Linked DNA regions of Homo sapiens: all the other regions are linked to region 1. Evidence: promoter capture Hi-C in 16 types of primary human blood cells and fetal thymus (Javierre and others, 2016). All regions are on one chromosome and are shown on one strand. The core of a region is centred on a gene start or on the middle of the fragment in contact, and the rest is flanking DNA. Distances in the headings are between cores, read along the strand shown.

Region 1 (5,890 bases), core at 3,391-5,890:
CCTCCCAAAGTGCTGGGATTACAGGCATAAGCCATTACGCCTGGCCCCAGCAATTCCATTTTCAAAAACCTGTTTTGCATATTGGGTCCATCCGAGAGTTGGTTGAGGGGGGACAAATTCAATACTGAAGACAGGCCGGTTGCGGTGGCTCACGCCTGTAATCCCAGCACTTTGGGAGGCTGAGGCAGGCGGATCACGAGGTCAGGAGAGCGAGACCATCCTGGCTAACACGGTGAAACCCCGTCTCTAATAAAAATACAAGCACTTAGCCGGGCATGGTGGCGTGCACCTGTAGTCCCAGCTACTTGGGAGGCTGAGGCAGGAGAGTGGCATGAACCCGGGAGGCGGAGCTTGCAGTGAGCCGAGATCGCGCCACTGCACTCCAGCCTGGGTGACAGAGCAAGCCTCCGTCTCAAAAATAAAAATTAAAAAATAAACCAAAGACAGCCACAGTAGAATAGATAGAAAAAAGGCTTAAGGCCTGCGTTAGCCTAGCAGAATTTAAAATTTGCCTGGGGGAAACAGGACATAAAATTGTGCCATAGAAGTCACCAACAGGGTCAGCCACAGTGTCCAGCACTTTGGGAGGCCAAGGCTGGAGGAGGGAGGGAGCCCAAGAGTTTGAGACCAGCCTCGGCAACAAAGTGAGACCCCATCTCTACAAAAAATTAAAAAATAAAATTAGCTGGGCATGATGGTGCGTACCTGCAGCCCCAGCTACTACTCAAGAGACTGAAATGGGAGGATAGCTTGAGCTCAGGAGGTCAAGGGTGACAGAGCAAGACCCCGTCTCTCCCTCTCTCTCTCTCTTTTTTTTTGTTTTGTTTTTTTTTTTTTTTTTGAGATGGAGTCTTGCTCTTGTCACCCAGGCTGGAATGCAATGGCATGATCTCAGCTCACTGCAACCTCCGCCTCCCGGATTCAAGCGATTCTCCTGCCTCAGCCTCCCGAGTAGCTGGGATTACAGGCGCCTGCCACCATGCCCGGCTAATTTTTGTATTTTCAGTAGAGACAAGGTTTCGTCATGTTGGCCAGGCTGGTCTCAAACTCCTGACCTCATGATCCGCCTGCCTCGGCCTCCCAAAGTGCTGGGATTGCAGGTGTGAGTCACCATGCCCGGCCTAAGGCCCCGTCTCTTAAAAAAAAAAAAAAAAAGTCACCAACAGTTAGCGAGTGCTTACTCTGTGCTAGGCCTTGTAATAAAATACCATCTTAGCCTCACAACAGCCCTGCAACAAGGTAAGTGCCATCATCCCATTTTACAGATGAAGAAGTAAGCAGAGAAGTAGTGATTTGCTCCGGGTCACAGAGGTAGGAAGAGTGGAACTATGGTTCAAACCCAGCAGCTGGGCTCCAGAGCCCCCACTCAGAGCCACCCTGTGCGATGGCCTCACTGGAGCACAGGAGTGGAAATGAGAGGTGCTGTGATGCGAAAGGAGAATGGCCGCGGAGGTGAAAAACAAGCTCTCCTGACAGCAGCAGGCCTGTGAGATGGCTATTGTCCCCACTTCATAAAGGAAGAGAGTGAGGCTTACAGGGATTGTCATTGATCCCAGGCCACAGGGAACCATGCGGCAGAGCCAGATTTTAACCCAGATCTGCTGGCCTCTAGGACCCTGCCTCTTAATGTCCCTCTTAACAGAGGGATGTTGCCTAGAGACTGGCTGCAGCGCAGGGGCACTGAACTCTGGAGGAGGCTGAGCTAGTCCTGGAGCTGGGGAAAAGTATTCCCACAGGGAGCACAGAAGGCCCAGGGGTGTTGAAGGACAGGAAATAGCCCACAGCTAAGGCTCTACGGGTATAGGTGACGAAGGGGAGAAAGCCAGAGTAAGGGCAGCAATCCTGAGGGTCAGGCTGAGGGCCAGGCTGTCCTGGGAAGTGGTGAGACTTCCATCTCAGGACGTGTCTAAAGGGGACTGGACTGGTTTAGAAATGTATGAATGGGCCCGAGGGATGGCCTGGCTGTCTGCTGGCACCTTCCAAACCAGAGGATGACAAAGAAAAGTACGTTTGAAAGTTGTGCAACATAGGGCCAGAGTGGCCTTGTGTGGCCGCAAGGAGGCAGGAGAAGAGGAGGCTTCCAGAAGAGGCTGAGCGGGGACTGAGACCTGGGCAGGGGGAGGACAGCAGAGACACACAGATGGGAGGGCACCTGGAGTGAAGTGTGGACAGCATCTGGAGGTGGCAGGAAGCAGCAGGAGGCCAGGGGCCAGGATGATGGGGGCTGGTTACAGAGGTGGAAACTTGGAAATAGGTTTCAAGTGGGGAAGAGGCCAGAGGAATGCAGGTTGAGACACAGCAGGAGAGATGGCTGGAAGTATCAGCGTCAGGGAGTCACAGCTATAGGAAGGACAGGAGAGCAGAGAAAGGAAGGGAAATTTAGAAACCCGAAGACCAGATAATGAAGTTTCATGCCTTCCAGGAGGAAGAGCTGCTAAGGAGGTGAGAGGAGGGCAGAGAAACATCCTTGGGGGCGCCAGGACCAGGATGGCAGGAAGGGGTGTGGATGTTCTTGGCCACTCTCCTTCCATTTTGAGGGCCTTAATGAAGGAGGCAGCATCACAGTAATGGTCCCACAGCAGCTGCTCCATGGGTATTGCATGTGTGGGTGCATAAATGCATTAATCAAGAGTACTGGGGTCTGGGCAAGGTGGCTCACGCCTGTAGTCCTAGCACTTTGGGAGGCTGAGGCAGGCAGATCACATGAGACCAGGAGTTCGAGCCCAGCCTGTCCAACATGGTGAAACCCCATCTCTACTCAAAATACAAAAATTAGCCAGGCGTGGTGGCGGGCGCCTGTAGTGCCAGCTACTCGGGAGGCTGAGGCATGAGAATCACTTGAACCCAGGAGGCGGAGGCTGCAGTGAGCCAAGCCAGCCTGGGCGACAGAGCAAGACTCCATCTAAAAAAAAGAAAAAAAAAAGTCTGCAAGGATCTCACTGAATTTTAGTGAAAACCCTCTAAGGAGAGATTACCCCCATTTAACAGATGAGAAAAATAAGATTAATTTGCAAAAAATAAGTAGGGAAGCCTCCACTGTGGTTCTGAGGTGGAGGAGGGTCCTCTGTCTCTCAGTGGTGGTGGGAGTCGGTTCTGATTACAGGAAGGAAGAGTGGGTGTTTAGTTTTCTTTTCTTTTCTTTTCTTTTTTTTTTTGTGACGGAGTCTCGCTCTGTCGCCCAGGCTGGAGTGCAGTGGTGCGATCTCGGCTCACTGCAAGCTCCACCTCCCAGGTTCATGCCATTCTCCTGCCTCAGCTACTCGGGAAATAGCTGGGACTACAGGCAGCCGCCACCACGCCCAGCTAATTTTTTTTGTATTTTTAGTAGAGATGGGTTTTCACCGTGTTAGCCAGGATGGTCTTGATCTCCTGACCTCGTGATCCACCCGTCTCGGCCTCCCAAAGTGCTGGGATTACAGGTGTAAGCTACCACGCCCAGCCTTGTTTGCTTTTCTGAGACGGAGTCTCGCTGTGTTGCCCAGGCTGGAGTGCAGTGGTGCGATCTCGGCTCACTGCAACCTCCGCCTCCTGGGTTCAAGCGATTCTCCTGCCTCGGCCTCCCGAGTAACTGGGACTGCAAGCACCTGCCACCATGCCCGGTTAATTTTTGTATTTTGAGTAGAGACGGGGTTTCACTATATTAGCCAGACTGGTCTCAAACTCCTGTCCTAGAGTGATCCGCCCACCTCGACCTCTTAAAGTACTGGGATTACAGGCATGAGTCACTGTGCCCAGACTGGTTTTGTTTAGAATCCACCCCTTGTCCTGCCTCTCCCAGGGGTCTATGAGGAGCCCACTAATCTTTAATCCATGGCCCTAGGTTCAGGGGAGGGGGTTGGGCCAGGGCAGGCCATGGGAAGTGAAGTGGACTTGGGGGGAGTCAGAAAGCTTTGGTGTGGCCTCTTGTGCCCAAGACAACCCAGGAGGTTCATGGTCCTGAAGCCAATGTAATCTAGGGCCCAAACCTTCTAATCTCAGGGTGGGCAGAATCTAGGTGTAGAATGGGGTGAGTTCAGGGGGGCTCCACATAGACAGAGGGTGTGGGACCCTCACCTTGGCACTAGAAGAGTTCAGGCCTCCTCAAACAGATGGGGCTCAGGACAGCAGAGGGGACAGAGAGGGCTGCTCTGCCAGCATGTCCCAGAAGTGCATGTGGATATAGAGGGCAGCAGCTGCTGAGATGGCCGTGGGCATTAGGCTATGCTGGAGTGGGGACACCTCACCCCGACTATGCCAGCTCGCACCGGGCACTTTCACTTCCCTTAGTATAGGCTCCTTGCACTCTGCTACCCACAGTTTGCATCAGAAGAAATGGAAGAGACCTGCTTAAGGTCACATCACACACCCACTGGCAGAGCAGGGACTCTGCACAGGGTGGTCTAACTGCAAAGTCTGCCATCCTGCCATTCCCCTTGGGGCTGGAAAAGAAAGGTTTCTAACTTGCTTTCAAAGCGAGTTCCTATCAGCCCCGTTGTGGGCAAGGTGGGGCTGCTACCCGTTCTAGAGGGCCTGCTCAGTGGAGCTGGGGCCAAGCTGGGCCTCTCCAGTCGGCTGCGGGGGCGCACCCCCGGGCGCTGGGAGTCCAGGCCCGGTTTTGCATCAGGCCCTGCCGAGGTGTTTCCTCCTCCTCCGTGTGGGGCAGCTGCTGGCTGGGCTGCCTGTTGAGTCAGCCTTCTTCCCTCACGGCTCTTCTCCCGGTCCCTGAAACTCGGCTGCCAGGGGAGCTGGAGCCACCTGCGAAGGTGTCCTCCCATACTGGACCCCTACAGGTAACACGTGTCGGTGCCAGGGTCCCCTGCCAGGGTCCAGAGACGCAGGCACTGCCACCTGGTATCCTGAGCACCCTCCAGCACCTTGGGGTTGGGGGAGGTGGGCACATGTCTGGAACTGGAACAGCTGGACAGATGGACAGACCCTCCTCTTGACCAATGGGTCTGTCCCACCGTGTCAAAACAGCAGAGAAGACCAAACTCCTACCTAACTCTGGTAGGAGATTCTGCCTCTGGTTGGTAGGAGAGGGGACTTCAGGGAGGGGGCACTGCTGAGGACGCTGGGCTGATGCCCATGGCCCAGCTCAGGCAGGCCTGAAGGACAGAAATAGGCTCAGTTCTGCCGAACGTCCCCCCGGCCTCCATCCACACTCAGACACACACACCTGGTGGCCCCCAAGGCACCAGGGGACACCCCACAGCACACAGCCCAGTCACACATACAGCACAGGAGGAAATGCACAATGCATACTGTACACACCCCACACGGCGCTGTCACCTAGAAAGTCACTGAACACACCACACAGACAATATAGTCACCATGCAGCATCACACTGCAACAGGACACAAAGACACACAGCAACTACACAGCTCACAGACTCACGCAACGCAGACATGCCCACCAGACTCGGACCCACACAGCCACACAACAGGGCACAGAGAGGGACGTGGGCTCACACCCCAATCCACAGGGGAGGCCGAACGTGGGCTCACACCCCAATCCACAGGGGAGGCCGAACGTGGGCTCACACGTTGGCCACAGAAGTCCAGGGAAACTGCTGTTGTGGAGCACACAGGTATCCACAGAGTGAATGCACACCGTGCAGCCGTGCTGAGGCCTTCTGCTCCTGAGGGTGTCAAGAGGGATCGCTGGGGCTCGGCCACTGACTCAGCTGGGAGGGGACAGAGCATAGCAGGCGGCGGACACAAGCCAGGACCTGCCCGCCAAGCTGCCTCCGCCGGTCTCAGCCCCACCTGGAGCCGTGGCAATGGAAGGGGCGGGGAAGAGAGGAGAGGCCGCCCAGTGGGCTCAGGACACAGCCCTGACCAAGTCATGGGCCCCTTGCCACGTCTACATGCCCCTCAGCGCTGGGCAAATGCTTTCTTTCCGGAGTCACTGT
Region 2 (5,890 bases), core at 1,584-4,083, 330 kb after region 1:
GAGAGGGAGATGGTCCCCGGAGCATTTTTGGAGCTCATCAGCTCCGTTGTTTTCCCTTCCAGTTCCAACTGAATCAGTAAAAAGCAGCGAGGTGTGGTGAATGGAACCCAGGATCCCTCTCAGGAGCCTCGGGAATCCGTTTCCTCTCCGCATCAGTGGCAGAGATGTCCCTGCCCCAACCGGTGGGTGTGCGGATTCTGTGCGGATTCGCACGGTGTTTGGCACGTGGTAAGCTCCGCAGATGTCAATATCATGACTGTGGTTGTTCCTGGCCTTGTACCCAAGTGACCTTGGGCAGGATACTAGGGTACTTTGCTTCTCTGGGCTTCAGTTTGTTTATTTCTAAAATTGGGGTATTAATAGAGTCTATTTCAGAGGGTACTTGTTAATTTAATAACTGTTCCACGCTGTATCCCCGGCACTTTGAACAGTGCCTGACGCATAGAATTTGCTTTAAAAAAATTTTTAAGACAAACTCATTCTTACAATGCATTGAATATCTACTGGCACCAAACGTTGGCCTCACATCAACTTAATTTTTTTTTCAGAAAGAAAGCACAGAAGGGTGTGTGGAAAAAGAAACTCAGTTTCCCTCACCGTACGAGAGGCTTCTGACAGCAGAAGTGTGGGGGTTTCTCCCCACCAGCAAGCAAACAATCAGTCCTCTGGTGAACACCAGCTGAGGGTCCCCAAATTCAATTCTGACACCACTATGGGTAGATAGTGGCCGATCCCACATGTTGAGGGTTCAGTCCCCCAGACTGCCAATCGAAAGCCCTAGGTTGTTTTACCTGTGTTTCTGACTGACTATAAACTGGGGTTCCCACAATTCCCTCCTGCAGTTTTACTAATTTGCTAGAGCAGCTCACAGAACTCAGGGAAACACTTTACTTACATATACTGGTTTCTTTCTTTAAAAAAAAAAAATTGATCTTGTTGTTGTTTTGAGACAGGGTCTCACTCTATTGCTCAGGCTGGAGTGCAGTGGCCCCATCTCAGCTCACTGAGACCTTCGCCTCCCAGGCTCAAGTGATCCTCCCACCTCAGCCTCCAGCATAGCTGGGACTACAGGTATGCACCACCACGCCCAACTAATTTTTTTTTTTTTTTTTGAGATGGGGTTTCACCATGTTGCCCAGGCTGATCTTGAACTCCTGAACTCACGCAATCTGCCTGCCTCAGCCTCCCAAAGTGCTGAGATTACAGGCATCAGCCACCATACCCAGCTACATTTACTGGTTCCTTATGGATATTACAAATGCTCCGGATGAAGAGATGCATAGGGCAAGGTATGGGAGAAAGGGCATGGAGTTTCCATTCCTCTCCAGAAGCACCACCCACTGGAGACCTCCTTGTATTCGGCTATCTGGAAGCTTGTCAAACCCTGTCCTTTTGTGTTTTTATGGAGGCTTCATTACATAGGCATGACTGATTAAATCACTGCCCATTGGTAATCAGCTTAACCTTCAGCCCCTCTCCCCTCCCCAGAGGAAATGCCAGCCATCAGTCAACTTATTAGACAGTTATCACTCAAAAGATATTTATCACTTTGAAGATTCCAAGGATTTTAGGAGTTGTATGCCAGGAACTGGGGGATGAAAAAATATATTTTACAATATCACAAGGGATAAAGGTCACACAGCAAATTGTGCAACATGGGTACACATTCAAGACAGTCAGAATTCATGAACCTATGCTCTTTCCTTTATACCACAAAACTGGAAAATGCATATGCCCTCAGACTCACCTCTAATATGATCTTTGTCAGATCAATGCTATTTTCTTAAGTTAAAAAGAAAAACAAGAAACTCCTCTCATGTATTGAGTACTTAGCACTTTATGGCACGCAGTCCACTTGTACCTATAACAACACCACGAAGTAGGTACCATTGTTATCAACCACATGTTATAGATAAGGAAACTGAAGCTCAGAGAGGTTAAGTAATATTCCCAAGGCTGCCTAGCCAGGTCATGGCAAAGTCAGGGTTTAAACCCACAATTGGCTAATACCCAAGCCCACATTTTTTTTTTTTTTTTTTTGAGATGGAGTCTTTCTCTGTCGCCCAGGCTGGAGTGCAGTGGCGCAATCTCATCTCACTGCAAGCTCCACCTCCCAGGTTCATGCCATTCTCCTGCCTGCCTCAGCCTCCCGAGTAGCTGAGACTACAGGCGCCCACCACCAAGCCCGGCTAATTTTTTTTGTATTTTTAGTAGAGACAGGGTTTCACTGTGTTAGCCAGGATGGTCTCGATCTCCTGACCTCGTGATCCGTGGGTCTCGGCCTCCCAAAGTGCTGGGATTACAGGCGTGAACCACCACGCCCGGCCACCAAGCCCACATTTTTAACAACCACTCCAGATGGCTTCATCTATCCTTAAAGATGAACTCACTGTCACATTGGATCCTATAATAAAGGGGATTCTAAAATCATCCAGTCCTTTGAGCAGCAAAGGCAACTTAACTTTCCTTTTACAGAGGAAGTAATTAAGGCTCCAAGAGGTGACAGTGTTAAGGCCACAGATCGCTGATATTGCACCTGTAAGCTGGGTCTCATGCCACTTGGGGTTTTGCATCCCATCTCCCTAAAAATCTCCAACCCATCCTCTTAGACAAGTCCCAGCCCAGAGCACTAAAAGGGACCCAGGAGTGCTGCCTCCCAGGAGAAGGGGCCTCCTGGCTCTCAGAACATGAGATTTACAGGCAGACAGGCAGCCTGGCAGAGGGTGGCAGCTTGATGCCCACACTTCATAGCTCCTGAGTTTACCTTGGAGGAGAGAAGAGAAGCAATCTTCAGCCCGGAGCCTGCTGATAGATGGGCACAGCAGCGAGTAAACGGTTCTCCGGCTGAAGGCTGGCTTTTTATCATCACTTGTGGATCCTCCCACGTCTCACCCTAGGCAGCCAATCCCTGTCGGAGTTTCTATTTCTGCACTCTGCAGTTTCATTTTCCCCTCTCTCCCAGCTCCTGCACTCTGCAGAGTTTCATTTTCCCCTCTCTCCCAGCTCCGCCCAGCGGGAACATTTGTGTGCTGCCTGCTGGCAGAAAAATGCACTTCAAGCTGAGGACTTTTGGAGCCGCTAAGGGTATTCAAAGCATGTCACACTATGATGAGAGCCACGGCCATACTGGGCTTAGTGAAGCCTGATCACCAGCTCCCCCTGGGGCACACAGGCCTTTCACCATTCAGTCCAATTAGTAAACAACACCTATCATTTATTGAGCACTTGCTGCATGCCAGGGTCTGTGCAAAGTGCTCTATTTACATGATCTTTTTCCAATCCCACAGTAGTCATGTGACATACCATATGCTGTTTATAAACCCCCAGAACTTTGGAAATTAAGTCACTTTGTTCCATTGTTCTCTCAGGCTGGCTGCTTCTGGGTCATGGGCATATGGTAAGACCAGTGAAGCCTGTGTTCATGTGGCCATCATGATAGATCTTGAGTTTCAAGATGGGTCCCCTGGCCCTAGGTAATGAACTGAGCATTCTTTAAAGCCTTTGGATGGTGATGCTTGAAGTGCTATGGGTCAGAAATGCAACCTCTATTTGGAGAACATAGAAATTCCAGTAAGGATGAATCATTGCCTTCTCCCAAGTGGAAGGGGTCTGAAATAATTGACCTGCCACCAGATGGCTGGCTATTCTCATTGAGAAATTTTGCCATATTGCTACCTGCTGCTGGCAGATTGGCTATATTTTGGCAATTGCCAGATCAGTTTTGGTGAGAGGGAGCCCAAGTTGTTGGACTCATTTCTAACCCCCATCCTTACCACCTTGGACACTCATAGGTCTATTGCAAGGCAATAGTGAGGCTAAGTTTAGAGGCTGGCTGACATCCACAGGATGGGACATCCTGGCCATTGGGCTGTAGAGCCTCCTCTGCAGCAGATGATCTCTGGTCAGCATTAACATGAGACATAGAGATCCAGGTGCTTTATGCCCATTCAGAGTTCATTCTTATGCCCCTAACCCACACCTGCTTATTCCCAATCTTCCAATCTTGTTCCATCCATGCCTTTGACCAACCAGCCAAGCCATTTGCCTCTTATTAGGAATTGGTGTATGTCTGTACTTCAGTCCATCTCTCTCTCTCTCTCTCTGCATACAGAGGGAACAACACGGTATACTGCTCCTAGTTCTGCCCCCTGGGAGGATTCACTATTATTCAGTGCCACCCCCAAATGGGGCTGTAATAGAGTGGTCCGTTTCCAGCTGATACCAAAATATTATACTGACTTATCTGTGAATTGAGTTTGACTCCTTTCCTCCATTATCTGTTGGTTGCTGGGAACACTCCATGAGGCCATATATATGGGTCAAAGAGAAAACCCAGAGAAACAGAGTTGGGCGCCACAGGACTCTGAGCTCCCTGTTTATTTAATTTACTCAAGCCTTTTAGACCCCTTTGCTCAGCCTTGAATATACCATTTCCATCATATATTTTTTGTTTTGTTTTGTTCTTTGTTTTTTGTTGTTTTTGTTTTTGTTTTTGAGACAGTCTTGCACTGTTCCCCAGGCTGGAGTGCAGTGGTGTGATCTTGGTTTACTGCAACCTCTGCCTCCTGGGTTCAAGCGATTCTCCTGCCTCAGCCTCCCAAGTAGCTGGGATTACAGGTGCGCGCCACCATGCCCGGCTAATGTTTTTTGTATTTTTAGTAGAGATGGGGTTTTGCCATGTTGGCCAGGCTGGTCTTGAACTCCTGACCTCAGGTGATCCACCCACCTCTACCTCCCAAAGTGCTGAGATTACAGGTGTGAGCTGCTGTGCCTGGCCTCTTTGTTGTTTTGTCGGTTGGTTGGTTGGTTTGTTAGAGACAGGGTCTCACTCTGTTGCCGGGGCTGGAGTGCAGTGGTACAATCATAGCTTACCGCAGCCTTGACTTCCTAGGCTCAAGAAATCCTCCCAACTCACCCTCCCAAGTATCTGGGACTATAGGCATGTGCCACCACACCCAGCTAATTTTTATATTTCTTTTAGAGATGGAGGTCTCACTACATTGCCCATGCTAGTCTCCAACTCCTGGCTCCAAGTGATCCTTCTGCCTCGAGGTCTTAAAGTGCTGGGATTACAGGCATGAGCCAATGCGCCCAGCTTCCATCACATATGGAACTGCTGCTCTACCTTTCTGATAATACCCAACTTAAGATATATAGCTACCTGGCACCCAGTGGTGAGATGTGTAGTCACTACTGGGGCCCAGTGACACATCAGGGCCTCTTTTCCCAAAGGGACCACAGTAAGCATAGCCTTACTGCAGAATCCTAAGAATCCTAACCGTAATTCTCCTATGTGGGCTTTCAGAAACTTTCTACAGAATCTTTTTTCTCCCTCCCTACAGAATTGTTATCCACCTTCACACAGATACATCCAGCAACATTGTAGGATCATATAATCAGAAGTGGCAGCATAGCTTGTTTTGTGGCCTGAACCTGCTACACAGTTAAGAGGAAAGAAAAAAACCAAAATGACCTAATGTGCTTTTTCTTTTCTTTTCTTTTCTTTTCTTTTGAGACAGAGTCTCGGTCTGTCGCCCAGGCTGGAGTGCAGTGGCGCGATCTTGGCTCACTGCAAGCTCCACCTCCCGGGTTCACGCCATTCTCCTGCCTCAGCCTCCCGAGTAGCGGGGACTACAGCCGCCCGTCCCCACGCCTGGCTAATTTTTTGTATTTTTAGTAGAGACAGGGTTTCACTGTGTTAGCCAGGATAGTCTCGATCTCTTGACCTCGCGATCCCCCCACCTCGGCCTCCCAAAGTGCTGGGATTATAGGCGGGAGCCACCGCGCCCGGCCTGCGTTTTCTATTCTCTCACTGAACACAACAATCGCCACAGACCAGATGTGTGGGTGGGTTTTTTTTCTCACGCCCCAAGCAGCAGACACCAGCTGG
Region 3 (5,890 bases), core at 1,724-4,223, 310 kb after region 1:
TGCAATGGTGCAACCTTGGCTCACTGCAACCTCCACCTCCTGGGTTCAAGCGATTCTTCTGCCTCAGCCTCCTGAGTAGCTGGGATTACAGGCATGCACCACTACACCTGGCTAAATTTGTATTTTTAGTAGAGATGGGGTTTCTCCCTGTTGGTCACGCTGGTCTCAAACTCCCGACCTCAGGTGATCCGCCTGCCTCAGCCTCCCAAAGTGCTAGGATTACAGGCATGAACCACTGCACCCGGCCCTCAGTATCCTTTATAAAGCTTTCCCTACTAGAACACACAGATCTCCCTGATTCTTTTTCGTAGCCATATAGTATTCCATTTTGTGGATGGACTGTGCTCTACCTAGTCTAGCCCCTTACTAATCGACAGTTGGGTTGTTTCCAGTCTTTGGCTATGGAAACAGTGCTGCAGAGAATAACTTTATACATACATCATTTATTACTCATGCAAGTCTATCCGAAGATGAATTCCCAGAAATAGGTTATCTGAAGGTATTTTGATAGATTTTGCCAAAATGCCCTTTTACCAATTTATATTCACACATGTGAGAGTCATGTGTGAGAACATGTGTGAGAGTAGTACTATTTCCTCATAGAAATGCTCACAGAATATGTTATTCAGCTTTTGGGGTTTTTTTGGCCAGACTGATAAGACATCGTATCTTAGTCCATTTTGTGCTGCTATAATAAAATCCCACAGAATGGATAATTAATCATAAACAGAAGTGTATTGGCTCACAGTTTTGGAGGCTGGGAATTCCAGGATCATGGGGCCCACATCTGGCTTGGGCCCTCTTGCTGTGTCATCCCATGGTGGAAGAGCAAAGAGAGGGTGACAGAGAAGAAAAGGGAACTGAACTTGCCCTTTTATAATGAATCTGTTCCCAGAATAATAATCCCACTCCTGCTATAACAGCACCACCAATCCATTCATGAGGGTGAAACCCTCATGACCTAAACACCTCTCCTTAGGCCCAACCTCCCAACACTGTTGTATGGGGTTAAGTTCCCAGCACCTGCTTTTCGCGGCGTAATGTTCAAACTGTAGCAATATTCTAGTCTAGTTTTTCTGGTTTGCATTTCTTTTGAGTTTGAGCTTCTTTTTATGTGTTTAAGAATCACTTATATTTACTTTTCTGGGAACCGTCAGTTCATATGCTAGGCCTCTATTTCTTTCTTTTTTTCTTTTTTCTTTTTTTTTGAGATGGAGTTTCGCTCTTGTTGCCCAGGCTGGAGTGCAATGGCGTGATCTCGGCTCACTGCAACCTCCGCCTCCCAGGTTCAAGCGATTCTCCTGCCTCAGCCTCCTGAGTAACTCGGATTACAGGCAGGCGCCACCATGCCCAGCTAATTTTTTTGTATTTTTAGTAGAGACGGGGTTTCTCCATGTTGGTCAGGCTGGTCTTGAACTCCCGACCTCAGGTGATCTGCCCACCTTGGCCTCCCAAATTGCTGGGATTACAGGCGTGAGCCACCGCGCCCGGCCTAGGCCTCTATTTCTATAAGATTAATCAATTTCCTGGAATTCTTTCTAAATAAGCGAGATGTTCCCTTGTCTGTGATTAGAGTTGTAAATATTTCCCCCAGATTGTCATTTGTCTTATGCGTTGATTTATAGTGTTTTTCCATGCAGAAGTTTTTGATTTTTATATAGTTGACTTTATCAATCTTTTCTTTTTACAGCTTTTTGATTTTTGAGTCATGGTTAAACTTTCTCCACTATGAGATTATACATTCTCCCATGTTTTCCTCTAGTGCCTTTACGGTTTTATTTTGATTTTTCAAACATTTAAATATTTTATCCCTTGGGAGCTCATCCTGGTGCTCAGTGTGAGGCACGGATCTAATTTTTTTTTTCCTAGTTGGCTACCTAGGTGTCCCAACACCATTTATTAAAGAGTCCATTTTCCACTTTGAGAGGACACCTTTATCAAATACTAAATTCTCGCGTGCAATTAGGTCTATTTCTGGACTTTCTATTCTAGTCCATTGGTCTGTTTGTCTCTTCCTGAACCAAACCAAGTGGTTTTAATTATTATTTTTTGTTTTGTTTTGTTTTGAGACCGAGTCTCGCTCTGTCGCCCAGGCTGGAGTGCAGTGGTTTGATCTCGGCTCACTGCAACCTCTGCCTCCTGGGTTCAAGCAATCCTCCTGCCTCAGCCTCCCAAGTGGCTAGGATTATAGGCACCCACCATCACGTCTGGCTAATTTTTATATTTTTAGTAGAGAAGGGGTTTCACCATGTTGGCCAGGCTTGTCTCGAACTCCTGACCTCAAGTGATCCACTCGCCTCGGCCTCCCAAAGTGCAGGGATTACAGGCATGAGCCAGCATGCCCAGACTTAATTATTTATTTATTCTTATTTTATTTTTTTGAGATGGAATCTCTTTTCATCGTCTAGGACGCTGGAGTGCAGTGGCATGATCTCGGCTCACTGCAACCTCTGCCTCCTGGGTTCAAGTGATTCTCCTGCCTCAACCTCCTGAGTAGCTGGGACTATAGGCGCCTGCCACCAGGCCAGGCTAATTTGGCTAATTTTTGTATTTTTTTTTTTTTTAAGATGGAGTCTCACTCTGTTGCCCAGGCTGGAGTGCAGTGGCATGATCTTGGGTCACTGCAACCTCCAACTCCCGGGTTCAAGCAGTTCTCTGCCTCCGTCTACCAAGTAGCTGGGACTATAGGCATGCACCACCACACCCAGGTAATTTTTGTATTTTTAGTAGAGACAGGGTTTCACCACATTGGCCAGGCTGGTCTCGAACTCCTGACCTCAGGTGATCCGCCTGCCTCGGCCTCCCAAAGTGCTGGGATTACAGGCGTGAGCCACCATGCCCGGCTCTTAATTTTTGTATTTTTAGTAGAGATGGGGTTTCACCATGTTGGCCAGTCTGGTCTTGAACTCCTGACCGCAAGTGATCCACTCGCCTTGGCCTCCGAAAGTGCTGGGATTACAGGCGTGAGCCACCCCATCAAGCCCCAAGTTGTTTTAATTTTTGAGGCTTTAAATATTGTTATCTAACAGTAGTCAGTGAGTGTTGCCTTTTTTTTTTTCCAGAATTTTTCTGGCATTCTTTTTCTTTCTCTCTCTTCTGTCCTTTTTTTGTTTGTTTTTGGGGGTGGGGAACCTCAGGAGACCTCATGGGATTTATGCCTTTGCAGGAAAAAGAAAATCAATAATTACATGTTATTTGGTAGTGGCTAAGAAAAAAAATAAAGCAGGTAAAAGAGCAGAAGGCAACTAAGGGGTAATATTTAGATAGGCAGCCAGGGAAGTCCCCTGGATGAGGGGGAGATACCTGAGTGAAGGATGGGAGACCACGTGGCTACCTGGGGGAAGACATGCCTGGCAGGGCCAAGGGCAAATGCAGAGGCCTGAGGCAGGAGCACGCCTGGCATGCTGAAAAACAGCAAGGCGGCCAGTGCAGCTGGAAGGGAGTGATCAGAGCAGAGAGTGGGAGGCAGTGAGGTAGATCACGCAGGGCCTTGTAGGTCACAGCAAGGACATTGGCTTTTCCTCTGACACCAGGAGCCATGGGGGGGGCGAGGGGGTTGAGCAGAAGAGTGACATGTTCTGACCTCCGTTTTAACAGGATCACTCAGGCTACTGCGTGGAGTGCAGACTGCAGGGGTGAGGGTAGCGGCAGGGAGGGCAATAGGATTTGGGATGGGTGAATAAATTGTAACTTGGTTTCCTTGTCCATTTTCCCCCATCAAACTGTGAGCTTTGCAAGGACAGGCCCTGAGCTTATTCAGCTCTATGAGCCAAGTGCCAGGCCCAGAGTAGGCGCGGATAAACACTGTGTGAGGAAGAAGGGTGGGAAGACAGAGGAGGAGACAGGAGGCAGGAGAGGCAGAGCCCCCTGGGAAATGGCTCTGCAAAGGCCACAGAAAGAAGAGGAAGCAGACATGATGACAGAGCCTGTTCCCCAGCAGGAACCAAGGCCAGGAAGGGCTGAAGCTGGGGAGCTGGGCCCCCAACCCCGGATCTGTGGCCCCCATTAACAATCAGGTTATGTGCAGTTTATGCTGGAGTTCTGCCAACAAAAGGACCCTGGCCGGGGGGGGTGGGGTGGGGATCTGTTCCTCAAGGTGAAGGTGCAAAGGTGAGGTGGCCTGGCAGAGAGGAGAGCAGCTTTCCTGAATCCTTGCACACAGAGGCCCTGAGAAAGGATAATTCACCCCCTTTATAGATGGTAAGTTGAGGCTCCATGAAAGAAACAGACCTAAGTGATACAGCAAATAGGTGGCCTGGCCTAGTTTCAGGGGCTTGGCCTCTCCAAAACACCTCCTTGGCCACTACCTAATTTGGTCGGGGTCCCCTGCAGTTTTAGGGAGTGACTAAATACAGAAGGAAGGGATGACTCCTGTTATTCAGCCAGCTCTTAGCTGCTGCCAAAGCACAGCTGGTGAGTCCTCACTGTGGGCGGGACCCAGCTTGGGGAACAAAAGCCACAGGACACTTCAGGACCTCATGAGGCTTAGGAAAGAATTGGCCTGGAAGTAGGGCAGATAGACAAGAGGCACCAAGCTGAGGGGCAGAGGAAAGAGGTCAGGCTTTGAAGTTAGGCCTGGCTTTGCCACTATCTTGCTGTGTTATCTTAGGTAACTAGCACCTCAGTTTGCGCATCTGTAAAATGGGAACGACAAGTCCTGCTTTATAGGGCTGGCATGGGGGTTGAAAGGGGCAACAGAAGTCCAGTGCTACCTGAAAGTGCTTCCTTCTTAGCTTCCCCGCTCCCAGACTGGGGACCTGCTATCCCTGTCTTCAGCAGATGCTGGTTGGCTGCTCCTGAGCAAAGGGGAAATGGGCTGCGATGGCGGCTCAAGTCCCAGGCCTACAAATGGGTACAGGCTGTGGGGGATCTGGCCAGTGCTGACACCTAGGGGCTCTTTCAGGATTAGGTGAGCTTGCACATGCCCTCAGGACAGTTGAGTAGGTCTTGGCTCTGCACCAACTACCTCAGGCAAGGTAATCACTCTCTCTGGGCCTCAGCTCCAGGGAATCTCTTCGGCAATGGTTGGGGGTGGGCAGGAATTAGAGGTCTTCTAATTGCAAACGGAGTGGGCTGCTTCAAGAGTAGTGAGCTCCCTGCCTCTGGAGGTATGTAAGCAGGGACTGGACAAGCACTGGGTAGAGATTCACTCACTCATTAATTCAATAAACTCCTACTGAGATTCCATTTTGGGCCAGGGCCTGTGGCCATCATTGTCATTAGGAGATATAGTGACAAGGCATCTTTACTCTCCTGTAACTTACATCTTTTTTTTTTTTTTTTTTTTTTTTTGAGACGGAGTTTCCCTCTTGTTGCCCAGGCTGAAGTGCAATGGCGCGATCTCGGCTCACTGCAACCTCCGTCTCCCAGGTTCAAATGATTCTCCTGCCTCAGCCTCCCAAGTAGCTGGGATTACAGGCGCCCACCACCACGACTGGCTAAGTTTTGTATTTTTTTAGTAAAGATGGGGTTTTGCCATGTTGGCCAGGCTGGTCTTGAACTCCTGACCTCAGGTGATCCACCCGCCTCGGCCTCCCAAAGTGTTGGGATTACAGGTGTGAGCCACCACACTCGGTCTCCTCTCCGCCCCCTCCCCTTCCCTCCCTTCTCTTCTCTTCTCTTTTTTTTTTTAGACAGGGTCTTGCTCTGTTGCCCAGGCTGGAGTGCAATGGCTTGATCTTAAGCTTAACTGCAGCCTCAACCTCCTATGCAGAAGTGATGCTCATGCCTCAGCCTCCCGATTAGCTGGAACTACAGGTACATGCCAGGTATGCTCAGCTAATTTTAAAAAATTTTTAGTAGAGGCCAGGCATGGTGGCTCATGCCTGTAGTCCCAGCACTTCAGGAGGCTGAGGCGGGTGGATCACCTGAGGTCAGGAGTTCGAGACCA
Region 4 (5,890 bases), core at 1,152-3,651, 300 kb before region 1:
TGGGGTTTCACCATGTTGGCCAGGCTAGTCTCGAACTCCTGACCTCAAGTGATCCTCCCGCCTCTGCCTCCCAAAGTGCTGGGATTACAGGCGTGAGCTACCACGCCAGGCCTAAAGGACAGTCCTTAGTGACTTCCCATTGGCTGGAATAAAATGCTGATTCTTTACGGGATGACTTTAGCCTCATCTCCCCCTTCCACCCCCGGCTCCTTGTGTTTCAGCTTCGATTGGCCCCTTTTCTGTTCTACAAGCACAACAAGCTTGTTCCTACCTCAGGGACTTGGAGCCCACAGTTGCCTCCCAGTCTCTGCGTGTCTGGTTACTCATCGTCCCAGTCTTGGCCCAAAGAGCCCTTCCCTGACCTTTCCCTCTAAAGGGGGCTCCCCAGTTACTCTCCATGTTTTCACCTTTGTTGTGGTCAGCCCAGCACTGATGGGTCACCTTGTTTACTGCAGTGTGACTTGTTTCAGGGTCTTCCCCACTAGAGTGTAAGCTCCATGAGGGCAGCGTGCTCATTGTCTGTGGTACCTGGAATCTGGCTGGTACCAGATAAATGCACATGGAATATATAGTACATGTCTGTGTTTATTTCCCCTTTGTTGTCCCTGGGCCATTGCTAACATCTTGTTTGCAGGTCCAAGCCTGGTTTCTTCTCTCCACCGGGCTCTAAAGGGAATGGGCCAAGCTTCCCCCCAACATTTGGGCCAGAGTATGAAAGAGGGGCTAGTGCTCTGCAGGTGCCCCTGTGGTGGGGGGCAGCAGAGGTTGCTGGGTGAGCTCAAGGGGCTTTGAGCCTCCTGGGGTTGAGAGGTCCGGGCGCCTCCAACTTTGATTTGCTTTTGGTACAGAGGGCAGCATTTCCTCCAGCTTCTATGTGTATCCCGGCCCCCGGGCTTCCTCTCTGAGCAGGACTTTCATTGTTTTCTGTCTGCCTTGTGCCCATTTCCTCCTTCCTCCCTCACTCCTGAGGACGAACTCCTCCTCTTATCAAAGGACAGCCCTTCCTGTCTTCCCATTACATTCAAAGCCCCTTTCTCTTTGGGGAGGAGCCCCCACTACATGAGTCTTGATGGACATCTGGGCCCTATTGCCCACTATAGAAGCTGGAGGGGACCACAGACCCCTCTTCCTACTCCCTGGCAGAGAGGACATGGGCACATAACCTGGGGCGGCCAAGGGGCGTAGCCCAGGGCTTGGAGTGAGTGATGCCAAGACAGGAGGGTAAGAATTCACTTAGAAAGGAGGCTTTTGCCAGCCCAGCCAATATGGTGAAACCCTGTCTCTACTGAAAATACAAAAAAAAAAAAAAAAAATTAGCCGGGCGTGGTGGCGCATGCCTGTAATCCCAGCTACTTGGGAGGCTGAGGCAGGAGAATTGCTTGAACCCGGGAGGCTGAGGTTGCAGTGAGCTGAGATCGCGCCACTGCACTCCAGCCTGGGTGACAGAGGGAGACTCTGTCTCAAAAAAAAAAAAAAAAGGAAAGAAAAGTGGTCTTTGGTAGCAGTTGCCAATGTGGTGTCTGATGGTGACAGTGATATCCAGATGTCTTGCAGCAGGCTTGGCCTGTCCAATGCTGTCACTTCCTTCGTTCCTGCTTTTATCTGAGCTTGGGAGGTAGTTTGAGAAGTCGCTGGTGCAGTTATGGAGGGGTGGGGAAAGCAAGATCCCTTTGGAGAGGAGCTAACAGGGTTTCCTGCCCCAGAGCTCTGCCACCACTCAGATGCCCAGAACCTGCCCCCCAAATTCCACTCTCTGAGAGTTCAGGGTTGAGCCCCCTCCCTCCTCCACCATATCTCCTGAGGCCCCTCCCACCAGGTATCCCAGCTGAAGAGGTTCTTCCCTGGGAACTGCTGCCTCAGCCCAGATTCAAGTCAGACAACAGGAAGGACTTCCTGACTGGGGGGGATGGGAGGCCCTGGACAAGGTCAGTGGGGGCATTTCTATCCCAAGACAAGGGACTGACTTCTGGAGGCCCTTTTCCAAATGACAGACAAAAAGAGCAGAGTCTTCTTCAGCCTGGCCAGGGCGGGCAGGGAAGGTTTTTAGAACAGGGTGAAGCACTTAGGGCCAAAGAGCACCAAGATTAAGAGCTCAGACTCCCTTGTTACATCCCAGCTCTGTCACTAACTAGTTGTGTCATCTTGGGTAAGCTACTTAACTCTGCTTCAGTTTTTTTAATCTGTAAAATGGGAGCAATAGTAGTACCTATCTCAGGAGGTTTAAATCAGTGAGTTGAAATTTGTAAAGTGTCAGAGCAATGCCTGGCACAAAGTGACTATTATATAAATTATTTATTTATTTATTTATTTATTTATTTTTTTGAGATGGAGTCTCTCTCTGTCTCCCAGGCTGGAGTGCAATGGTGTGATCTTGGCTCACTACAACCTCTGCGTCCCAGGTTCAAGCAATTCTCCTGCCTCAGCCTCCCGAGTAGCTGGGATTACAGGCGTGCATCACCATGCCTGGCTAATTTTGTATTTTTAGTAGAGACGGGGTTTCTCCATGTTGGTCAGGGTGGTCTCCAACTCCCAACTGCAGGTGATCTGCCTGCCTCGGCCTCCCAGAGCGCTGGGATTACAGGCGTGAGCCACGGTGCCCAGCCATAAATGTTTAATAAAATAAAGATATTAGCAGCTTCCATGTGGGAGCCACCTGGGCGCTGGGCACTGTGCCAGATTCTTTATTTGCATTACCTCGAATCCCCACATTACTCGATCAGATAATTCTTCTTGCTCCTATCCTGCAGATGAGGAAACTGAGGCCCAGAGAGGGGAAGTCAGTTGTGTAAGTTGACCTAGACAGATTCTTCGAGTTCCCTACATTATCACACTCTTGCTTTTCTCCACCACAAAGGCAAAACATTGATGAGGCAGGGGGACGGACAAAATGGGCCTTCCAGAGGTGCTCTCAGACCCTCCCAGCCACACTACAGCCGCAGAGCCCTCCGCTCACAAACCATCCTGGCCTCATCAGAACCTGGGGAGGGTTCCTAGTTGTGCAGGGTAAGTAGTATGCTCAGAGCTGCAAACATCTCATTAAGCAATTACCACAGGGAGCACCAAGGCAAGGAAGTGATCTCACTGCCATCTCGACACCACCCTGCCGCCAGGGTGGGAGTAATGGGGGTAATCATGGCAGCGGTGGCAGTGACATTGATGGTGATGCTGAGTGACGAAAAGGTGATGGCTCTATTAGATCTCGATGTTGGCGGAGGAAGTGAGGGGGCTGGTAATGACTTGAGGGTAGTTCAAGTGATTGCTAATGGTGGTGGCAGATCATAGTCTTGGTGGAGAGGTGACAGTGGTAGTGGTGATTTGTGGGGCAGACGCTGTGGCTTGGCTCTCTCAAGTCCATTTTACCCTCCTAGCTGGGGCAGCTGGACAGCAAAGCACTGCCTGTCCCTTCCCTGCTGTGCCTGCGTGGGGGACAGGCTCCACCAAGAGACTCACTGCAGCAGGGTTTGGAAGGCAGAAGTGAGGCTCAATCCTCTCTGTGCTTCAGTTTCCTCATTTACAAAATAGGAATAGGCCAGGCGCGGTGGCTCTCGCCTGTAATCCCAGCACTTTGGGAGGCCGAGGCGGGTGGATCACCTGAGGTCAGGAGTTCGAAACTAGTCTGAGCAACATGGTGAAACCCCATCTCTACTAAAAATACAAAACTTAGCTGGGCGTTGTGGTGGGCACCTGTAATCCCAGCTACTTGGGAGGCTGAGGCAGGAGAATTGCTTGAACCCAGGAGGCGGAGATTGCTGTGAGCTGATACCACACCACTGTACTCCAGCCTGGGTGACAAGAGTGAAACTGTGTCTCAAAAAAATAAAAATAAAAATAAATAAATAAATAAAAATAAAATAGAAATAATAATAGAACAGTGCCTGGCACATAATAGGCACTATGTAAGTGTTGGTTGTTGTTGCTAAATTGTCATTTTATTAATTTTAAGTTATTTTGTGCCCCCTTTTGGCTGTTTCTGCCAGCCTGCAAGGTTGCAGGAACACGAGGTTTTTCTGCACTGGTGATCTGGTGTCAGGCTCCAGCCTCGAGCTTGCTCAGAGGTAGTCGCAGGGATGAAAGCAGGGGTAGCAGCTTCTTAAATCCAGCTTTCTGATCCCTGCATTGAAGCTTCAGTGGTAAGTTGTTGAATTCATAGCTCTGGCGTTGACTTTCTCAGTGGGTCGAGTATGGAAAGGTCTGGAATCATTCCTGGAGGCCTGGCTCATTGAGCCTCTCTGATGGTTGTGCAAGGACCTACTGCTCTGTATTAAATACTTTGCTGCTAAAAACACCAAGAGGGGTTTCTGTTTCCTGCATTGACCCTGCCCTCACCAGACCCTGCCGCATTCTCTGCATCCCCTCTTCTGGGTCCTCATCTCTGCTGCTCCTTCCTTGGCGTCATCATTGCCACCTCCATGCGTTCTGGAACTCTACCTTCCAGGCTCCCCCTCCCTGAGTCCTCTCCTCTCGGTCTCTTCCTCTTCCTCCTTCACGGTGGGGCTTCTCGGGGGGCTGGCCACCGCAGCCTCACATGTCCCAAACTCATTGCATGGTCTTCTCTCCCCAGTTTGGCCTGTTTTAGCCTGGGGCCCAAACCACAAAGAAAGCTGGGAGCCTCCTTAGAACTTGAGCCTCTTTCCTCCCTCCACTCTGTCTGGGCCTTCTAACATTCAGTGAGCGCCTACTGTGTACTGGGCCGAGCAGCACCCAGAGTTGAGGCTGACCCAGTGTGGGCTCCTGGATGTATGTAAACACCTGTGAAGTTCCGCAAATGGGAGGGATGGGGGAGAGCTCTGTAATAAGTCTAGATTTTTAACAGTCAACAGGGAGGTTCAAAGATGCGGCCGCCTTGCCTCAGTTTGGGTCGCCTCTAAAGGGCCCTTTCAGCCCCAGAATTCCCTGTGGAATAGGCTGAGGCCTTGGCTGTAGCTTCTGCTTCTCACTCCCTTTTGGGGTGGTCCCTGAGAGCAGCCCCCCGTAAGCTGCTGAGTGAGGATCTCCTCTGAGTCTGTTTCAGGGTCCCAGAGCCCAGAGCCCAGAGCCCAGAGTGACTGCTCCTGAGACAACCAACCAGCCATAGTGGAGGCTCTGGCTTGGCTTCAGCCCCCCGAGGGTCAGACTTTACTGCCTCCTCCTTCTTTCTCCATTTCGGGAGCCACCGCCTGAGGCCAAGGTTGTGGCCTGTCTAAATCTCCACAGCTTCTTAAGTGGTTTCCCCCCCCCCGGCTCTCTTGCCTCTTCTGACCCCTTCTCCACAGGGCAGCCAGAAGGATCCAAGCAGATCCAGCCAATCTCCAGCTTAAGCCCTTCAAGGCTACCCATTGCTTTGACGATAAATTGAGCTCCTGACCCCGGGGGTTACCTCCCAGCTCTGCACACCTCCTCTCAGCTGCTGCAGCTGCCTCAAGGCTGCCTCCCTGTTCCCCATGCCTCCCTCTGTAGCAGGGCTCTTTTCCATTTCCCTCAGCTCCTTTCCAGCCTTCAAATTTCAGTCAAATGTCCCATCCTCAGGGACAAGGGCATGTCTGCTCCCCAGGGGCAGCCTGTTACTGGTTAATGGGAGGCTCAAAGGCCTGGCCACCTTGCCTCAGTTTGGGTCCACTCTGAAGGGCCTTCCCAGTTTCTCAGGGAAACCACTTCTTTTTTTTTTTTTTTTTTCGAGGTGGAGTCTCCCTCTGTCGCCCAGGCTGGAGTGCAGTGGCGCGATCTCGGCTCACTGCAACCTCTGCCTCCCGGGTTCACGCCATTCTCCTGTCTTAGCCTCCTGAGTAGCTGGGACTATAGGCACCTGCCACCACGCCTGGCTAATTTTTTGTATTTTTAGTAGAGATGGGGTTTCACCATGTTAGCCAGGATATTCTCGATCTCCTGACCTTGTGATCTGCCCACTTCGGCC
Region 5 (5,890 bases), core at 2,088-4,587, 280 kb before region 1:
CATGTGAGGAAACCTAGGCTACATGGTCATCCTTGAGGATGAAAGATCTCATGAAGAGTGAGGCTTAACCATCCCCACCATCCCAGCTGAACCTAGCCCACAGCCATTCTTCCAGCTGAACGTAGCTGCACAAGTAAGCCCTGGAAAAATCAGCAGAAGAATGCAGCCAACCCACATTTTCATGAGAAATAAAAAAACATTACTGTTTTAAGCCTAAGTCTTGGGTGGTTTGTTATGCAGCAACAGCGAACTGATACAATGGGTCGCAGAAACACTCACAGGACAGTATTTCTGTGCTGCTATTTCCACTTGATATTCTGGAGCTTCATGTAGATCTGTTGCAGTGAAGCAATAAAACAATACAGTGGCTTAAACAAGATTGTTTGTTTTCTTGTATGTAAGAGGTCGGAGTTAGGTCTTCATGTTTTCATGTCTGGTGGGTCAACTGTGCCCACCTTCAAAATGGCCCTTCTGGCTGGGCATGGTGGCTCACATCTGTAATCCCAGTACCTTGGGAGACAGAAGTGGGCATATCACTTGAGCTCAGGAATTTGAGGCCAGTCTGGGCAACATAGTGAGACCCCGTCTCTACTAAAAATACAAAAAATAAGCTGGGCGGCTGGGCGCAGTGGCTCACGCCTGTAATCCCAGCACTTTGGGAGGCCGAGGCGGGTAGATCACGAGGGCAGAAGTTCAAGACTAGCCTGGCCACGATGGTGAAACCCCGATTCTACTAAAAATACAAGAATTAGCTGGGTGTGGTGGTGGGGGCCTGTAATACCAGCTATTCTGGAGGCTGAGGCAGAGAATTGCTTGAACCTGGGAGGTGGAGGTTGCAGTGAGCCGAAATCGCACCACTGCACTCCAGCCTGGGCGACAGAGTGAGACTCCGTCTCAAAAAAAATAAAATAAAATAAAATAAGCTGGGTATGGTGGCCCACACCTCTAGTCCCAGCTACTCCGGAGGCTGAGGTAGGAGGATTGCTTGAGTCCAGGAGGTGGAGGTTGCAGTGAGCTGTGATCACACCATTGCACCCCAGCCTGGGTGACAGAGTGAGACCCTGTTTCAAAAAAAAAAAAAACAGAGACAGAAGAGTGAGGTGGGAAAATACCCAATCCTTTGGCACGTATCACTTCGATTCATATTTCTTTGCTAAAGCTTGGGCCCATGGCTTCACCTAGTTGCAAGGGAAACTGGGAAATGTACTTTCTTTCTTCTTCTTCTTCTTTTTTTTGAGATGAAGAGTCTCGCTCGCTCCGTCGCCCAGACTGGAGTGCAATGGCGTGATCTCGGCTCACTGCAACCTCCGCCTCCTGTGTTTAAGCAATTCTCCTGCCTCACCCTCCCAAGTAGCTGGGATTACAGGCACTGGCCACCACACCCGGCCAATTTTTTGTATTTTTAGTAGAGACGGGGTTTCATCATGTTCGCCAGGCTAGTCTTGAACTCCTGACCTCAAGTGATCCACCCGCCTCCGCCTCCCAAAGTGCTGGGATTACAGGTGTGAGCCACCAGGCCCGGCCTGGGAAATGTGCTTTCTAGCCACGCAGCATGTGCCCAGCTAAAATATGGCCATTCTATTTATTAAAGAGAGAAGGAGAAACTACGCATTTGAGGATGACTAGCAGTCAATGCTGTGTAATCTGCCTCCAGGGTTCTCAGCAGTGTTCTCAGTAAATATGAGTATCCCATGGATTAGGTGGTTTAATTTCTTATCATAAAACAATCATAAGTATCAAGTTTTTATCTATGAATTGGTTAGGGAGATTTAGGCTGCAAGTAACAGAATACTAAGCTAAAAGTTGTCTAAAGAGTTGGGAGTTTCCTAGCTTAGCCAACATAAGAGGAGACCTCTATCTTTACAAATAATTTTTTTTTTTTTTTTTTTTTTGGAGACAGAGGCTTGCTCTGTTGCCCAGGCTGGAGCGCAGTGGTGCGATCTCGGCTCACTGCAACCTCCACCTCCCGGGTTCAAGTGATTCTTCTGCCTCAGCCTCCCAAGTAGCTGGGACTACAGGCACATACCACCACGCCTGGCTAATTTTTGTATTTTTAGTAGAGATGGGGTTTCCTCATGTTGGCCAGGCTGGTCTTGAACTCCTGAACTCGTGATCTGCCCGCCTCAGCCTCCCAAAGTGCTGGGATTACAGGCGTGAGCCACTGTGCCCGGCCTTCTCCGAATAATTTTTTTAAATGAGCCAGGTGCGGTGGTATGTGCCTGTGGTCCCAGCTACTCAGGAGGCTGAGGCAGGAGGATCGTCTGAGCCTGGGAGGTCAAGGCTGCAGTGAGCCATGATCACACCACTACAGTCCAGCCTCCAGCCTCTGCAATGGAGTGAGAGTGTCTCAAAAAAAAAAAAAAAAAAAAAAAAACACAACAAAAAAACCCCACAGGACTTTTATCTTAAGATATCTTGGGGTAGACCATTTTTGAGTCAAGGCCCTCATGGTTGAAAGATGACTACCGTGGCTCCAAGCATCATATCCACAGAGAGCAACTAAATAACAGCTGTTATATATTGAGTACTTATCATGTGCTAGAACTGTCTGGGCATTTTAGGTGTATTCACTCATTTGATTTTCACAGCACCCTGAGAAGAAAGTCCAATTATTTTCATTTTGCAGAGGAGGAACACGAGGTACAGAAAGGTCAAGTAATCTGCTTAAGACAACACAGCCAATCGGAGGCAGAGCCATGCTTTTAGCCCAGATGGTTTGACCCTGGAGCCTGCACTTTTGTGTGGCTGCATTTGCCACGGGCAGCATCTCAGGAAGGGAGGCTTGGACAGGGGTCCTCCTAAAACATCTCTTTTTGTAAGAGGAGGAAAATTCCTCCCAGAAGCCCCCAGCAGCCTCCCCCTCTTATCTCATTGGCCAGAACAGGGTCCCATGGTTCTCCCCAACCCAATTACCAGCAGAGGGGAGTGGATCAAATGTAAATATCCCAGTCACCATCCACCTGGGGGTAATTAGTACATTGTCCTCCCACCAGAACAAAACAAGCTTCTTTTAGCAAGGAAGCGGGGGGGCAAATATCTGCCCCTAGGCAGAACCCATGGTTGGTAGCTGGGGTCCGCCAGCCCACTGGGATTGAAATAAGGTTGGCTCAGACCCCATCCCTTACTTTCCACAAGGCTTCTGCAATTTCTCAGGCTTACAATTGTGTGCCTCTGATTTCCGGCTTCTGCTGAATTCTAGCAGCTGTTCCCTTTATTTCTGCCCTGGAATTGACTCAAATGTAGGATGCAGCCCGTTTCTTCTCCCAAGAAACCGTGGATACCAGACTGCTCTGTAAGCAGAATTTCACTAAGATTTGTGGGTCCCTGGAAGAGTTATAGAGTGGCTCAGCACACGACTGAAAGTGGCACTGGGACGTCTCTGCTCTTACAAGCTGGTTTCTCAGGCATCCTCCAGCCCCGCCCGCACAGGGCTGCTGCTCCCATCTGCTGGCGCCCATGCCCATCTACCCGCCTCCCTTCTTCAGCCCCTGCGTGACAGACACCTCGATGCCCCAGGGGCTTCCAATTCTCACACAGGAGACCCTGCATTTCAGCTCTCCCTAGCCCCTCCTGCTCTTCCCAAACCAGGCTGCCAAGCCAAACCCAGTAAGGGCCTTTTAAGAACAAAAGGGCCTTTTAGTTAATGCAGCAGGATCTACTTTCCTTAGAAGGAAGCTTTGGTTATAAATAACAACCTTTCCCCTCTGGATTCCTCCAGGTGCATTGGAAATTCAAATTTCAGAATAAGCTGACTGCCAAGAGGGCCCTCCCCCTGTCGGGAGTCCCTTAGTCCATGGGAAATTCACAGAGAAGGAAACAGTCACTTTTCCTGCACCTGAGAAGGTAAAAATCAAACTGCCTTAGAAAGATTCTGTCCTCCTAAAAACTGGTGCCTCTGTACACCTCAAGGAGTCAGCAGGCTCTCCCTCCGAGGCTTAAAAGCCTCAGGGATTTCTTTTTTTCTTTTTTTCTTTTTTTTTTTTTGAGACGGAGTCTCGCTCTGTCACCCAGGCTGGAGTGCAGTGGCGCGGTCTTGGCTCACTGCAACCTCTGCCTGCCGGGTTCAAGTGATTCTCCTGCCTCAGCCACCTGTGAGCCACCGTGCCAGCCAGCCTCAGTGATTTCTTAGGAGCCTGTTGTATGCAATCTTGAGGGCTGAAGAAGTGAGAGGGACCCACCCCATCCTACCTCTACAGAATGCTTGGCACCCCCACCAATGTTCCTAGACTCCATCTCAGGACCAAGGTAGTGTAGACCCAAAGCCCGGCCCTATCCTGGCTCCCAAGCATCCCACAGCCTCTGGGGTAGAGGTGGTTAGAGGCACCAGCTCTAGACCTTGGCTGCCTTCTGTCTGCCCTCAGGGTCTGCTCAGATCAGGACACCCCCTCCCCCAGGCTGGGGCTCAGCCTCAGCATCCTTGGCAGGGCTCCCCACAGGGGCATTTCCACAACTTTCCAGCCCTGGCCTCCTGTTCAAGGGTTCGGCCTCAGGCAGGACTAGAGCTGAGTTGCAGAGGAGGAGGAGGAGCGGGGAGAGAGCCGAGTAGTTCAGGTTGCCGCAGGGGAGACAGGAGGGAGGAGAAGAGAAGGAGGGGAGGGAGCGAAGGTCCTCAGAACCCAAGTGCGGGGCAGCCTCAGGAAGGTGACTTCTGTTATTCTCCCTGTGTGCTGTGTCTTTAGGAAAATCCCCCTCACACGACAGCCCAACAGCCTTATACCCGCAGTTGCTCTGGGAGCAGGGGAAAATGTCCTGCAGTTCTTGCCCCTCATTTGGGTCAACTCCAGGACAGAAGTAAAGGCGACAGCTGCAAGGAATCAGCAGAAGCAGGACAGCAGCCATGAGCACATGAGCCCCCAGAGCTGGCAGAAACCTTGGAGGCTTTGTGTAGCTACAGTGATGGCCACGTCTGGGCTGGCACTCACCTTATGCCAGTCTCTAGGGAGGAGCCCGCATTTGCAGGCTGGGTTACATCTTTTCCCCTCTTCCACGCTGGGATTCTTTTTTTTTTTTTTTTTTTTTTTTGAGACAGAGTCTCGCTCTGTCGCCCAGGCTGGAGTGCAGTGGTGCGATCTCGGCTCACTGCAAACTCCGCCTCCCAGGTTCAAGCAATTCTCCTGCCTCAGCCTCCGGAGTAGCTGGGATTACAGGCACCCACCCCCATGCCCGGCTAATTTTTGTATTTTTAGTAGAGACAGGGTTTCGCCATGTTGGCCAAGCTAGTCTCAAACTCCTGACCTCAGGTGATCCGCCTGCCTTGGCCTCCCAAAGTGCGGGGATTACAAGCATGAGCCACCGTGCCCGGCCTGGAAATTGTTTTTTTTTTTAAACCCTCAGGTGATTCTGACTCTCCTGGAACCTGAGAACCACCAGTCTACGGGAACAGAGCCCTGCTTTGGGTCAGGTGTGTATAACTATGGTATTCCCTTTCTTCTCTGCCTCTATTGTTGATGTTGTTTTTTTGTTTTTTGTTTTTTTTTGAAACGGAGTCTCGCTGTTGCCCAGGCTGGAGTGCAGTGGCGCAATCTCGGCTCACTACAATCTCCGCCTCTGGGGTTCACGCCATTCTCCTGCCTCAGCCTCCCGAGTAGCTGGTAAGGGAGGAGACCACCCCTCACATTGTCTTATGCCCAATTTCTGCCTCCAAAGAAAGAAGTAAAAACTAAAAGGCAGAAATGAAATCCACAGGCAGACAGCCCGGCGCTGCACCCTGGGCCTGGTAGTTAAAGATCGACCCCTGACCTAATCAGTTATGTTGTCTATAGATTACAGACATTGTATAGAAATGCACTGTGAAAATCCCTATCTGTTTTGTTCCGATCTAGTTACCAGTGCATGCAGACCCCAGTCACGTACCCCTTGCTTGCTCAATCAATCCCGACCCCCTCACACG

The links. Contacts are between HindIII fragments. The CHiCAGO score rates a contact against its expected background, and 5 or more counts as called.
Region 2: the fragment with the promoter of IFI6 here is called in contact with the fragment with the promoter of SYTL1 in region 1 in 1 of 17 cell types (naive B cells); the score reaches 5.3 in naive B cells.
Region 3: a contact is called between a fragment that was not itself captured here and the fragment with the promoter of SYTL1 in region 1, in 5 of 17 cell types (total CD4 T cells, non-activated CD4 T cells, fetal thymus and 2 more). The highest score is 5.6, in total CD4 T cells.
Region 4: a contact is called between a fragment that was not itself captured here and the fragment with the promoter of SYTL1 in region 1, in 1 of 17 cell types (M1 macrophages). The highest score is 5.9, in M1 macrophages.
Region 5: a contact is called between a fragment that was not itself captured here and the fragment with the promoter of SYTL1 in region 1, in 2 of 17 cell types (M1 macrophages and erythroblasts). The highest score is 6.3, in M1 macrophages.

Annotation. Positions count from the first base shown.
Region 1 is chr1:27,337,382-27,343,271 of GRCh38, forward strand. SYTL1 (synaptotagmin like 1) reads left to right here and starts at 4,641. Exons shown (of 15, transcript NM_001193308.2): 1 at 4,641-4,769. RefSeq lists enhancers at 4,262-4,521, 5,052-5,101, 5,276-5,890. The HindIII fragment of the contact is 10,600 bases long and covers 3,887-5,890 here.
Region 2 is chr1:27,669,359-27,675,248 of GRCh38, forward strand. IFI6 (interferon alpha inducible protein 6) reads right to left here and starts at 2,834. Exons shown (of 5, transcript NM_002038.4): 1 at 2,765-2,834. RefSeq lists enhancers at 28-87, 2,866-3,205. The HindIII fragment of the contact is 12,379 bases long and covers 1,372-5,890 here.
Region 3 is chr1:27,651,888-27,657,777 of GRCh38, forward strand. No RefSeq gene overlaps it. Among named protein-coding and RNA genes, the nearest start is that of LINC02574, 7.9 kb to the right of the region's middle. RefSeq lists an enhancer at 1-231 and a silencer at 2,624-3,026. The HindIII fragment of the contact is 5,418 bases long and covers 265-5,682 here.
Region 4 is chr1:27,035,034-27,040,923 of GRCh38, forward strand. LOC101928391 (a long non-coding RNA gene) reads left to right here. Exons shown (of 8, transcript XR_007065559.1): 3 at 2,855-3,003. Among named protein-coding and RNA genes, the nearest start is that of TENT5B, 25 kb to the left of the region's middle. RefSeq lists enhancers at 1-374, 2,930-3,430. The HindIII fragment of the contact is 3,437 bases long and covers 684-4,120 here.
Region 5 is chr1:27,054,680-27,060,569 of GRCh38, forward strand. It overlaps LOC101928391 (a long non-coding RNA gene), which reads left to right. Exons shown (of 8, transcript XR_007065559.1): 6 at 3,719-3,843; 7 at 5,335-5,401. Among named protein-coding and RNA genes, the nearest start is that of TENT5B, 45 kb to the left of the region's middle. RefSeq lists silencers at 3,359-3,653, 4,379-4,673. The HindIII fragment of the contact is 671 bases long and covers 3,003-3,673 here.